3 separate regions of the Homo sapiens genome follow, and regions 2 and 3 are each linked to region 1. Evidence: promoter capture Hi-C in 16 types of primary human blood cells and fetal thymus (Javierre and others, 2016). All regions are on one chromosome and are shown on one strand. The core of a region is centred on a gene start or on the middle of the fragment in contact, and the rest is flanking DNA. Distances in the headings are between cores, read along the strand shown. Region 1 holds the start of UQCR11 (ubiquinol-cytochrome c reductase, complex III subunit XI). Region 2 overlaps ATP8B3 (ATPase phospholipid transporting 8B3). Region 3 overlaps REXO1 (RNA exonuclease 1 homolog).

Evidence for each region. The method cuts DNA at HindIII sites, captures the fragments that hold promoters and counts their contacts. A CHiCAGO score of 5 or more calls a contact.
Region 2: a fragment that was not itself captured here is called in contact with the fragment with the promoter of UQCR11 in region 1 in 3 of 17 cell types (megakaryocytes, endothelial precursors and erythroblasts); the score reaches 8.2 in megakaryocytes.
Region 3: a fragment that was not itself captured here is called in contact with the fragment with the promoter of UQCR11 in region 1 in 2 of 17 cell types (naive CD4 T cells and total B cells); the score reaches 7.1 in naive CD4 T cells.

Annotation. Positions count from the first base shown.
Region 1 is chr19:1,603,346-1,607,081 of GRCh38, reverse strand. It overlaps UQCR11 (ubiquinol-cytochrome c reductase, complex III subunit XI), which reads left to right and starts at 1,620. Exons shown (of 3, transcript NM_006830.4): 1 at 1,620-1,722. The coding sequence starts at 1,673. RefSeq lists enhancers at 43-664, 1,120-1,429 and silencers at 1,490-1,749, 1,800-1,869. The HindIII fragment of the contact is 1,731 bases long and covers 397-2,127 here.
Region 2 is chr19:1,805,706-1,809,426 of GRCh38, reverse strand. ATP8B3 (ATPase phospholipid transporting 8B3) reads left to right here. Exons shown (of 29, transcript NM_138813.4): 5 at 1,092-1,205; 6 at 2,161-2,259; 7 at 2,738-2,799; 8 at 3,258-3,330; 9 at 3,469-3,539. Among named protein-coding and RNA genes, the nearest start is that of ATP8B3, 4.7 kb to the left of the region's middle. The HindIII fragment of the contact is 1,104 bases long and covers 769-1,872 here.
Region 3 is chr19:1,843,505-1,847,183 of GRCh38, reverse strand. All of the region lies in intron 1 of REXO1 (RNA exonuclease 1 homolog), which reads left to right. Among named protein-coding and RNA genes, the nearest start is that of REXO1, 3.1 kb to the left of the region's middle. The HindIII fragment of the contact is 4,342 bases long and covers 1-3,679 here.

The DNA of each region.
Region 1 (3,736 bases), core at 371-2,870:
TGAACTCTTACATTGTGGCATCTGGAAACTCTGGGCTGACATTCCAGCAGCCCTTGTGTTCCTGTCCTTTCTCTTAATAGTCTCTGTGTCAGCCCCTGCATCCCACTTTTTTAAGTTTCCACCAATGGGAAGAGTCTTATTCAGGTGCTCTCTGATCCCAAGCTCAAAAACCCCAAGCCAACTGGAAAGTTCTACAAACAATGCCCAGGGCCGGGCCCGGTGGCTTACACCTGTAATCCCAGCATTTTGGGAGGCGGATCACTTGAGGTCAGGAATTCAAGACAAGCCTGGCCAACATGGCCAAACCCCATCTCTACTAAAAATACAAAAACTAGCCAGGTGTGGTGGCTCACGCCTGTAGTCCCAGCTACTTGGGAGGCTGAGGCAGGAGAAGCTTGAACCCGGGAAGCGGAGGTTGCAGTGAGCCGAGATCGTGTCATTGCACTCCAGCCTGGGCCACAGAGCGAGACTCCGTCTCAAAAAAAAAAAGAAAGAAAAACAGTGCCCAGACTGTGGTGTCCAAAACCTATTTCCGGCTCCCACCCTGAGTCCTTAACCAGGGATAGGGATGGGTTAGCACCCGCAGTCCCCAGAGAGCTGCAGGCTTGGGGTGTACTGAGGGGCTGACCCCAGGAGGACAGGCCAGGCTGGGCAGAAGAACCCACGGTGTCCATTCCTTATCACGAGGCCTGCAAGTGACGCTGGCGCCCGAGAGACAAATCACGCCCAGTGCCCCGTCTAGGCTATGGCCTTTCCGTTCATGCTGTAAAGGTGCCTGTGGGTCAGGCAGTCCAGGAGGGCTTCCTGAGGGAGGCAACTCTTGAATATGGGGGAAAAGGCACAAAAGTGCAATGGCGGTGTCTGGGAATATGCCCCTCTTCCTTCTGCCCACACCGGCCCGGTGTGCAGGGGGGAGGCTGGAAGCTGGGAGCTGAGTGAGCATGTACGGTGCTGCGCCGGGTTGTGGGAGAGCAGAGGAAGCAGGGACTGGAGAAAGGCGAGCCCAAGCGAGCCTGGTGCGGTGGAAAGCAGGAGGCAGAAAGACCTGCCTGTCATCAGCTAAGAGCATCCAGAGACGTTCACCGAGCAAGGAGCCAGGCCACCCTCTGCTGCCGGAATGAGGAATAACCCAGGCTCGCAAACGGAATCCTGCAAAGAGATTTCCGACAGGGCCTCCAAGCAACGGGCAACGCTGAGGCTCAGGGAAGCACTGCCGCTCGACCAAAGTCCTACAGCGAATCAGGAACAACGCCTGACGCCTCCAAAAGTGGGCTCCAATCCCAGCTCTTCCCCTCTGTGTGACTCTGAGCAAGACCCTTCCCCGCTGGACCTCAGTTTCCTTCATTGTAAATAACGTTCTGGCACATACTAGGCGCACAAAATCACTGGCAGGTAGCCCCGCGGAGCCCAGAAGCACAATCGGCCGCCAGACCACGTGGCCAGAAAGCACCGCCCTAACGCCGCCCACTCCGGACCACTTCTCCGCGGTCGTCCAACCCTCGCCGGAAGTTACTGTAAGTGGCTTCCGGGTCTGCGCGCACAGTGGCGGATGATGTTTTTTTTTCCTCCCCCCCCCCCCGCCCTCCCCGCGCGCGTGCGCGCCGCGGCCGCGCCTGCGCAGTGTAGCCGGGTCAGCTGGACAGGGTCATCCTGAGGGTGCGACTCCGCCGCGATGGTGACCCGGTTCCTGGGCCCACGCTACCGGGAGCTGGTCAAGAACTGGTGAGGACGCCGACCCGCGGCCCCATCCGCGCTCCCGCCTCGGCCCAGCCCCGCGCCGCTGCGTTCCGTATTTGTGCGCGTTTCCGGGGGCCGGGCCGGGCCGGGCCCAGGTCCCTTGTTGTTCCCGGTGACAGAGGGGGAAACTGAGGCCGAGAGGCGGAGCGGCGCGTCCCGGCGTGAACGGGACGTGACGGACCCAAGGCCAAACCCCAGCATGCCCGGCTCCGCGGCTAGGCCGCTCCAAGCCTCAGTTTCCCCATCTCTACCGGGGGATCCGAATGGTGACCCCCTGGACGGAAGCGCCCAGAAGGTGCCGAGTCCCGATCCCCAGCCCAGCACTCGCGGCATCTTCGGCCTTTGCCACTATTTTGGTTTTTATGATTTTTAACAAGGAGCGTGAAAGCTTCAGCTGCGCCTGAGCCCACGTGGGCAGCGGGACGGCATAGGGGTGGCCCCCATAGAAGCCGGGCTGGGGGTGGCCTCCGTAGGGTTGTCTGGTGTTTCCACGTGGGGTGCTAAGAAGCAAGGCCTGGCTGGGTGCGGTGGCTCCCGCCTGTGATCCCAGCGCTTTGTGAGGCCGAGGCAGGTGGATCACCTGAGGTCAGGAGTTCGAGACCAGCCTGGCCAACGTGGTGAAACCCGCGTCTCTACTAAAAATGCAAAAATTAGCCAGGCGTGGTGGCGGGTGCCTCTAATCCCAGCTACTCGGGAGGCTGAGGAAGGAGAATCGCTTGAACCCGGGAGGAGGAGGTTGCAGTGAGCTGAGATTGCGCCATTGCACTCCAGCCTGGGTGACAGAATGAGACTGTGTCCCAAAAAGAGAAAAGAAAAAAAAAGCAGCAAGGTCTTAGCCGGGTGCAGTGGCTCCGGCCTGTGATCCCAGTGCTTTGGGAGGCCCAGGCAGGAGAATCACTTGAGCCTGGGAGTTCAAGACCATCCTGGACAACACAATGAAACCCCATCTCTACAAAACAAAAAATTATCAGGGCATGGTGGCACCTGTCTGTAGTCCCAGCTACTGGGGAGGCTAAGGTGGGAGGATCGTTTGAGCCTGGGAATTTGAGACCAGCCTGGGCAACACAGCAAGACCTTATCTCTACAAAAAAATTTAGAGCTGCTGGGCGCAGTGACTCACGCCTGTAATCCCAACACTTTGGGAGGCCAAGGCGGGCGAATCACCCGAGGTCAGGAGTTTGAGACCAACCTGACCAACATGGAGAAACCCCGTCTCTACTGAAAATACAAAATTAGCCAAGTATGGTGGCGCGTGCCTGTAATCCCAGCTACTTGGGAGGCTGAGGCAGGAGAATCGCTCAAACCCGGGAGGTGGAGGTTGTGGTGAGCTGAGATTGTGCCATTGCATTCCAGCCTGGGCAACAAGAGCGAAACTCCGTTTCTAAAAAAGAAAAAAGCAAAGGCTTATGATTGGCAGTGTCTCCGGAAGCCAGAACATACTTCCTCTATCCCAGACTGGGGGACAGGTCGGGGACAGGGTCTGCACGGTGGAGCTGACTGGGACCTTCAAGTGGAATGTGATGGTGCCGGTGGCGTTTTACAGCGTGGGTAACTCAGGCCTGGGATGAGGAAGCCTGCTCCTAGCTGAGAACCCAGTGGCCCATGGTAGCCAGTGCAGCCCCTCCCGGGTGCAGCAGGTCTGCTTCTTCTGTGTTCAGTCACAGCGGGGACCACCCGTCATCCGTGCTTTCATCCAACAGCAAGCATTTATTTATTTATTTATTCATTTATTTATTTAGAGACGGAGTCTTGCTCTGTCGCCCCGGCTGGAGTGCAGTGGCGCAATCTCGGCTCACTGCAAGCTCCGCCTCCCGGGTTCACGCCATTCTCCTGCCTCAGCCTCCCATAAGTAGCTGGGACTACAGGCGCCCGCCACCACGCCCGGCTAATTTTTTTTGTATTTTTTAGTGGAGATGGGGTTTCACCGTGTTAGCCAGGATGGTCACGATCTTCTGACCTCGTGATCCACCTGCCTCGGCCTCCCAAAGTTCTGGGATTA
Region 2 (3,721 bases), core at 71-2,570, 200 kb before region 1:
TCACTGCAACCTCCACCTCCGGGGTTCAAGCAATTCTCCTGCCTCAGCCTCCCAAGTAGCTGGGATTACAGGCATGCACCACCACGCCTGACTAATTTTTGTATTTTTAGTAGAGACAGTTTCACCATGTTGGCCAGGCTGGTCTCGAACTCCTGATCTCAGGTGATCCACCCACCTCGGCCTCCCAAAGTGCTGGGATTACAGGCGTAAGCCACTGCGCCCAGCCTCTTTTTTCTTTTTTCTGTTTTGTTTTAAGATGGAGTCTCGCTCTGTCGCCCAGGCTGGAATGCAGTGGCGAGATCTCGGCTCACTGCAACCTCTGCCTCCCGGGTTCTAGTGATTCTCCTGCCTGAGACTCCCAAGTAGCTGGGATTACAGGCACCCACAACCACGCCCGGCTAATTTTTTGCATCTTTAGTAGAGATGGGGTTTTGTCATGTTGGCCAGGCTGGTCTGGAACTCCTGACCTCAAGTGATCCACCCACCTTGACCTCCCGAAATGCTGGGATTACAGGGGTGAGCCACCATGTCTGGCCGATATTTTTATTTTCATCTCGAGGACCGAACCGCCCGTCCTAACCAAATCACTGGTTTGGCACAAGAGTTCTGTGTGTCTCATTTGCCCTGTCCCAGTGCACGTGAGGGTCAGTTAATACCCAACCTGAAAGTACAATGTGTCCATCGCGGCCCTACCTGAAATCCTCTTGGGTGTCTTGCTTTGGGAAATGCTGGTCACAGCTCCATGAGTCTTTGCACTCAGTAGAAGCTTGATTAATGCTGGCTCCAGGCTTTTACATTACTGAGCAGGTGCTCAGTAAATGCTGGTCTGAGGCCTTGCATTCAGCAGGTGCTCAGTAAATGCTGGCCTGAGGCCTTGCATTCAGCAGGTGCTCAGTAAATGCTGGTCTGAGGCCTTGCATTCAGCAGGTGCTCAGTAACTGCTGGCTCAGTAGATGCTTAATGAATGGTGTGTGTCCCATAGCCCAGAGGATGCTGGGCGAGGCCAAGTGAGGCAGGTCTGGCCTCGGGCACCCCCATCCCCTGGCCTGGATGGCACCCCTCTGCCAGGCAGCCCGCGGCTCTCGTTCCAGACCAATGTCATCCGCACGGCCAAGTACAACTTCTACTCGTTCCTGCCGCTGAACCTGTACGAGCAGTTCCACCGCGTGTCCAACCTGTTCTTCCTCATCATCATCATCCTGCAGGTGAGGCGTGTTGCCTCCTCCAGGAAGTCCCCCCTAGCCACCTGGCAGCATCGATGTGTTTGTCTGTGTGATGGGTGGGTTCACGTCCCACTCCCCACAGACTGGGACCCTCAGCGCTGAGTCCCTACTACCCTGCCCAGGGCCTGGCACACAAGAGGCGCTCAGTACATGTTGAATGACAAAGGTGGATGGATGCACCCTCCAGGTCTGATGACGGCACCCTCTCCACGCCCCGCTGGTTCCTGCTGGGCAGGGCTGGGCATCGGGAGGCATAGCTGTTCCCCAGCCTAAACGGCCTCGGCCACGCAGCTCCCCTGGCCCCCGCCCTCCCAGCTGACCTCAGAGGCGAGGGGGAAGGAGGAGCCCAGAGCATGTTCTCAGGACCTGTGGAGCCACTTCCCGGTACCTGGGTGGTCCAGGCCAGCGTGGGGCCGGCATCCGGCCAGGGGCGCTGTTTTCAGAGCAAACACTCTCACCCAACATCTCATTTCTGTTCTGGATGGAGAGGTTCTCCTTTCATCCATCGAGTCATTCAGCATTAATGGAGTACCTACTGTGTGCAGGCCGCTGGCCGGGTGCCAGGGTAGGGGATGGTGGAGCTCACACCTGCAGGGTGACCTGGGGAAGCAGGGACATGGGAGGGAGGGGGAGCAGTGGCGGCCAAGCTTGGGGCTGGGGGAGGCTCCCTGGAGAAGGCACCGTGGGAGCTGGGCTTGGACGGGAGAAGGGGAGTTTGCTGGGGAGACGAGGCGTGTGGGAGAAGTTCCAGGCAGGTGGAGGGATGCCGGGGCGTTTGTCCCGAGGGCTGGGGGTTGCAGGAGATGGCTGGACCCCGGTCAAGGTGGCCAGCAGATGTGTCACGTGGTGTCGAGTGCGGGGCTAGGTCGGCTTGGTGGAAGGGCAGGGGACGGGGGAGTGGGCTGGTGTGACCCTTCCTGTGGCCCCCTCACGTCAGAGCATTCCCGACATCTCCACGCTGCCCTGGTTCTCGCTCAGTACCCCTATGGTCTGCCTCCTCTTCATCCGTGCCACCCGGGACCTGGTGGACGACATGGTGAGTGCTGTTGGATGCAGCTGCCTGGGGGAGGGAGCGGGGCCGGTCGGGGGGGTCTCTTGATCCCTGGGCGAGAGTGGGAGGAGGGCTGGGCTTCCTGGAGCATTAGGGGAACGTGGGCCTGGGAGCCTCAGCTGCTGGGGCTACATTGTCCTTATCTGCTAGCACCCACATTGGGCAGGTGCCGCAGGTGGCGTTGGCTCTGTCGGTGCGTGGTTTTGGGGCCATTGAGCTTTGGTGGGGGGTGGTCTGGCAGGCACTCTAGGTGGTGGGCAGCACGCCTGTCTTCTCCCCGCCAATAGCAGTGGGTCCAGTGGCCCCCACGTCCGGGATCCCTGAGCAGACGCAACGTGGCGTGGGGCCAGCGGACAGGGACCCCGTGTTGCGGGCGGGCACTGCTGGGCTGCAGTGCGGCAGCGGCCTGGGCGGGGGCAGGAGAGGCTGGACGGTCTCTCTGATCCTTTCCCTCCTGGCCCAGGGGAGACACAAGAGTGACAGAGCCATCAACAACAGACCCTGCCAGATTCTGATGGGGAAGAGGTGAGGCTGGGGCTGCAGCTGGGGATCCGCGGGGACACGGGGGCTCCAGCCCAGCAGGGTCATCGGCCTCGGCAAGTGTCCATCACCTTCCGTGCTCCCTGATCTCCCGGCTGGTTGAGTCCGACAGGAACCGGGCCTGCATTCATTAGGCGTTTGGCCGGGACGAGGACAGAGGCCGAGGCCCTGATGGCGAACCCTTGCAGAGCTTAGGGCTCGGGCGATGGGGAGGACAAGGAAAGTCTGAAGAGGACGTGGGTGCAGGACCCTGGAGGTCACTGGGTGGGAGCGTGGACCCGCGGGGAGTGGGGTGGGAGCCCGGGGAAGGCTTCCTGAGGGGGCAAAGGCCCGGAGGTGGGGACTGCAGCTGCGGGCCCCCCGTCATCCCGTGCCTCTGGTCTCCCGGTGTGGGGAGGGTTGGCAGAGGGAGGGGCCTCCTTCACAACCCCCTCTCCCCGCAGCTTCAAGCAGAAGAAATGGCAGGATCTGTGCGTGGGGGATGTGGTCTGTCTCCGCAAGGACAACATCGTCCCAGTGAGCTGGGGTTGACCCCGAGGTCCCAGAACCACGCGCCCCCTCACCGAGAGCACCCCTCCCAGGGTGGGGAGGGCTGCCGCACCCCCAATTTGTCTTGCATCCCCTCTTGCAACGCTGCCCCCCACTCCACACCAGGCCGACATGCTCTTGCTGGCCAGCACGGAGCCCAGCAGCCTGTGCTATGTGGAGACGGTGGACATTGACGGGTGAGGAGCTGTGGCATCGCTGGGGACCCTGGGGGGTGGGGAGCATGGCCCGGAGGAGCCCCCTTCCCCAGTCACCAAGGAGGCGGCCAGCCAAGGTCGCTCAGAGACTTTGGTCACTCACCCCATGAGTGTCTGGGGCGTGGGTGCTGCCAGGCACTGAGGGGAGGAAGACGCCCACCCTC
Region 3 (3,679 bases), core at 457-2,956, 240 kb before region 1:
GCGGTTGTTTGCAGGTGGACAGATGCAAGCAATCACTTGTCAGCTCCCCACAGCCCAGCGTCTTCGCTGTGTTTGAGGCGGGGGATTCAGAGCTGCGTACGATGCCGGCTGTGCTCTCAGGGACCTGCCGACAGCTGTGCCTACAGATCCCGTAGCATAGGTCGTGATGTCCTGGGAGCACGCAGCCGGCTTTGGCGGGGGCTGGGAGTTGGTGAAGAAGGCAACGCGTGGGAGAGGCTTCTCGGAGGCTGTGACACCAGACTCACGATGCTCATTTTAACCCTATTTTTAGAGACAGGGTCTCACTCTATAGTCCAGGCTGGAGTGCAGTGGTGCGATCACAGCTCTTTGAGGCCTCGACCTCCTGGGCTCAAGGGATCCTCCTGCCTGAACCTCCTGAGTAGCTGGGACTATGGGCGGCGGGTGCCACCAAGCCTGGCTAACTTTGTATGTTTTCGTGGAGATAGGGTCTCGCTATGTTGTCCAGGCTTGTCTCAAAACTCCTGGCCTCGAGCCGACCTCCTGCTTCGGCCTCCCAAAGTGCTGGGGTTACAGGTGTGAGCTACTGCACCCGGCGCAAGTCAGGCTTATGATATCTGTCTGCATCCCAAATGGCTCATTTGTTTCCCAAAGGCTTATTTTTGAGGGTCCCTTTGGTGATGTCGTCTTCCTGTCTGCCCCCCGTTCCTATGGGAAAAAGGCAGCTGCCTGCCTCTTACCATGGCGTGTCTGCATTTCCCTTTTGCTGGTGAGAATGAACTCCTTTTCCCATCTCTGGTGGGGTGGTAGGGCTTCTTGTTACTGTCTGGTAGAAGACTGCCTCCCCCCGCAGAAGGCAGGATCCATCTTCCTTGCGGTGAGGTTTCTCTGACCCTCTGTTTCCGCCTCCGTGACATGTTCATCAGGCTGCCCTCTGAGGACAGGGGGGGATGCATGTCCCATGTCCACACCTCCAGATTTACACACACCCAGTTTCCTATGAGATTTGAAGAGGCTGGCGTGATCTAGCCTTTGCCATGTCTTCTCAAGGGGATTTTAGGGTGCACAGGGCAGCGGCCTCCAGAGAGGAGATAGACAGGAACGCTGGCCTCCCAGGATTGAGAGTGGACAGAGGTTCAGGTGAAAAGCCCTCAGCTAGCCCTGGAGCACCTGTGGGGCCATGCTCTGTGCTGGACACGCGCTGCATGGTGACCCTGTGAGCTATTTGCTGCCGGTGGGGAAACGGAGGCTTATCGAGGAACGTGTTTTGCCCATACTACCACCTGGCCAGGGCAGGGCTGGAGCCTCCAGGGCCTCTGGGAGAAGGAGAGGGCATCTGATGAGGGCACCAAGGCAGGCAGGGTTGGGAGGCTTGGCGGAGCTGCGACGGGAACAGGAAGGTGGCTGGTGCTCCTGGGCCCTGGGTCACAGGCTCAGCGGGTCATTGGCGACCTTGAGCAGCACTGCTGAAGGACTCAGGTTTCCTTCTGGGCTCTTATCCCTGGACCTGCTCAGCCATTTTATTTAATGAATTAATTTTTGAGACAGGGTCTCACTTTATCACCCAGGCTGGAGTGCAGTGGTGCGATCACAGCTTACTGCAGCCTCGACCTCCTGGACTCAAGGGATCCACCTGGCTCAGCCTCCTGACTAGCTGAGACCACAGGCATGTGACATCACACCTCGCTAATGTTTAAAATTTTTGCCGAGACGGGGTCTCACTTTGTTGCCCATGCTGGTCTTGAGCTCCTGGACTCAAGCGATCCTCTCTCCTCAGCCTCCTGAAGTGCTGGGATGACAGGCGTGAAGCACCGCGCTGGGCTGCACAGCCATTTCAGAGCCGGCTGGACCTGCCCAGGGTGGCTTGGAGGGATGGTCCAGCAGCCCTTACGGCGGGCACCGTGTAGCCCTGGGACGCAGGGATGTGCATCCCCGGCCTAGAGGGGCACGTTCTATCCCAGCCTTGTGAGTTGGGAATGAGCGTTACTATCCCCCCAGTGGCCGCTCTCTGCTGCCTGGGCCTTGGCTGCAGCCTGGTGGTAGGTGAGGGGCCTCGGTTGTCTATGTGGAGTGGGCAGGGCTAGATCCCACCTTCCTCCCATCTGACCTCAGAACCCAGGCCTCTGCCCACTGCCCCGCACTCCCTGTGGTGTCTCAGGGAGTCTGTGTCCTACTGAGAGGCAGGACACTGTCTTCCAGGAGAGGGAACCCTTCCGGGGAGGATTGCAGGAAAGTCCAGGGCTCTCCAGAGGTGCGGTGGGCCCCAGCTCAGGGCTTCACAGCTCCGGCAGGAACGTGCTCCCAGATGATGCTTCTCCTGAGGGAGGCAGAGGCTGAGGGCACCACGTTGAGGGGATGCTAGTGCTGCGCCACAGGCTGACTCAGGCCCCAGCAGGACAGTCCCAGGCCTGGGGAAGGGGCCATCCTATACTGCAAAGTGAGCGGCAGACGTGTGTGCGGGGCGCACAGCTCCTGCCCTCGGGGATCCCGCAGTCGGGTTCAGGATCTGGCAGCCCGGTGCCAGTGGTTCTGGGTGGGGCTGTTGGCGGCGTCCCAGCTGGGGCTCCAGGCGACTCTCCAGAACTGCATCTGTAGAGGGCAGGAGTCCTGGGGTAGAGGCGCTCAGGGAGCAGCCCCAGGTACATGGGGAGCCCTGAAGCCCACCCACTGTGTACCCAGTATCTACTGAAGCCCACCCACCGTGTACCCAATATCTCCTGAAGCCCAGCCACCATGTACCCAGTATCTCCTGAGCCTTCTAGCAGAGTCGGGTCAGGCAGGGGTCCTCCTCCTTCTGGCTCTTCAGATGTGGCCCCTCACATGGGCTCTGGGGTCCCTACCTCTTGACTTGGCCACTACCACAGCAGTACTGGGCGGACTCTGCCTGTGACCCCCAAACAGCAGTGGGAGTGGCTCTTCCCAGTTTACAGATGAGGAAACTGAGGCCCAGCGCCGGGAGGCTGCTCACCTGTGTACGCGTGGCTGGTAACTGGCAGTGCTGGGTTGGATGTGGGTGGGCCGGGGCCCTGCCTGCCTCCTCTGCCGTTTTTGCTGCCAGCCTCTGTGGGCTGGGCACAGAAGGGAACTTGAAACCTTCCAAGGATGGGCCTGAAGCAGGCCTGGCTCTCCGGTGTCGGTGACAGCCTCCCATACCCCTGCTAGGCAGGTGAGCCCTGGGATCCTACTGATCTGTTAGGGCTTGCCAGCTCTCCTCGGAAACTCTGAGGCCCCGAGTCAGGCGAGAAGGGAGAAGGAGGCCAAGAATGGCGCCTCGCTGCAGAGGATGGCTTGCCTTCATTTCCTCTGGCCTCTCAGGAGGGTCAGGAGCTCCCGCTGGCTGCGTCCTGTGCTGCCTCCTCCTGGTGGATGGGAGACAGCCGGCTTTCCGTGGGGCAGTGAAGGCACCGTCTGACCACCTGTGTCACCTTCAGAGACGTGACAGTGTGTGCTCTCCTCGGTCCGACTTTTCATCCTCAGTGAGCCGCGTCCAGGAAGGAATGGACTCTAGGGGAGAACCCCCGCAGCCAGCAGTATTGTCTTTTGGTTCCCCAGGCCTGACCAGGGCGTATGAGGACCCGGGGGTGATTTTACCAGCGGGTGGCAGGTGGGCAATCGGGCCACCGGGGCCGCCTGCCTGCCTGGCCTGGAGTGGCAGCTATGGAGCTTGCTGGAGGGACGGTTGGTGCTAGGGACACTGGGG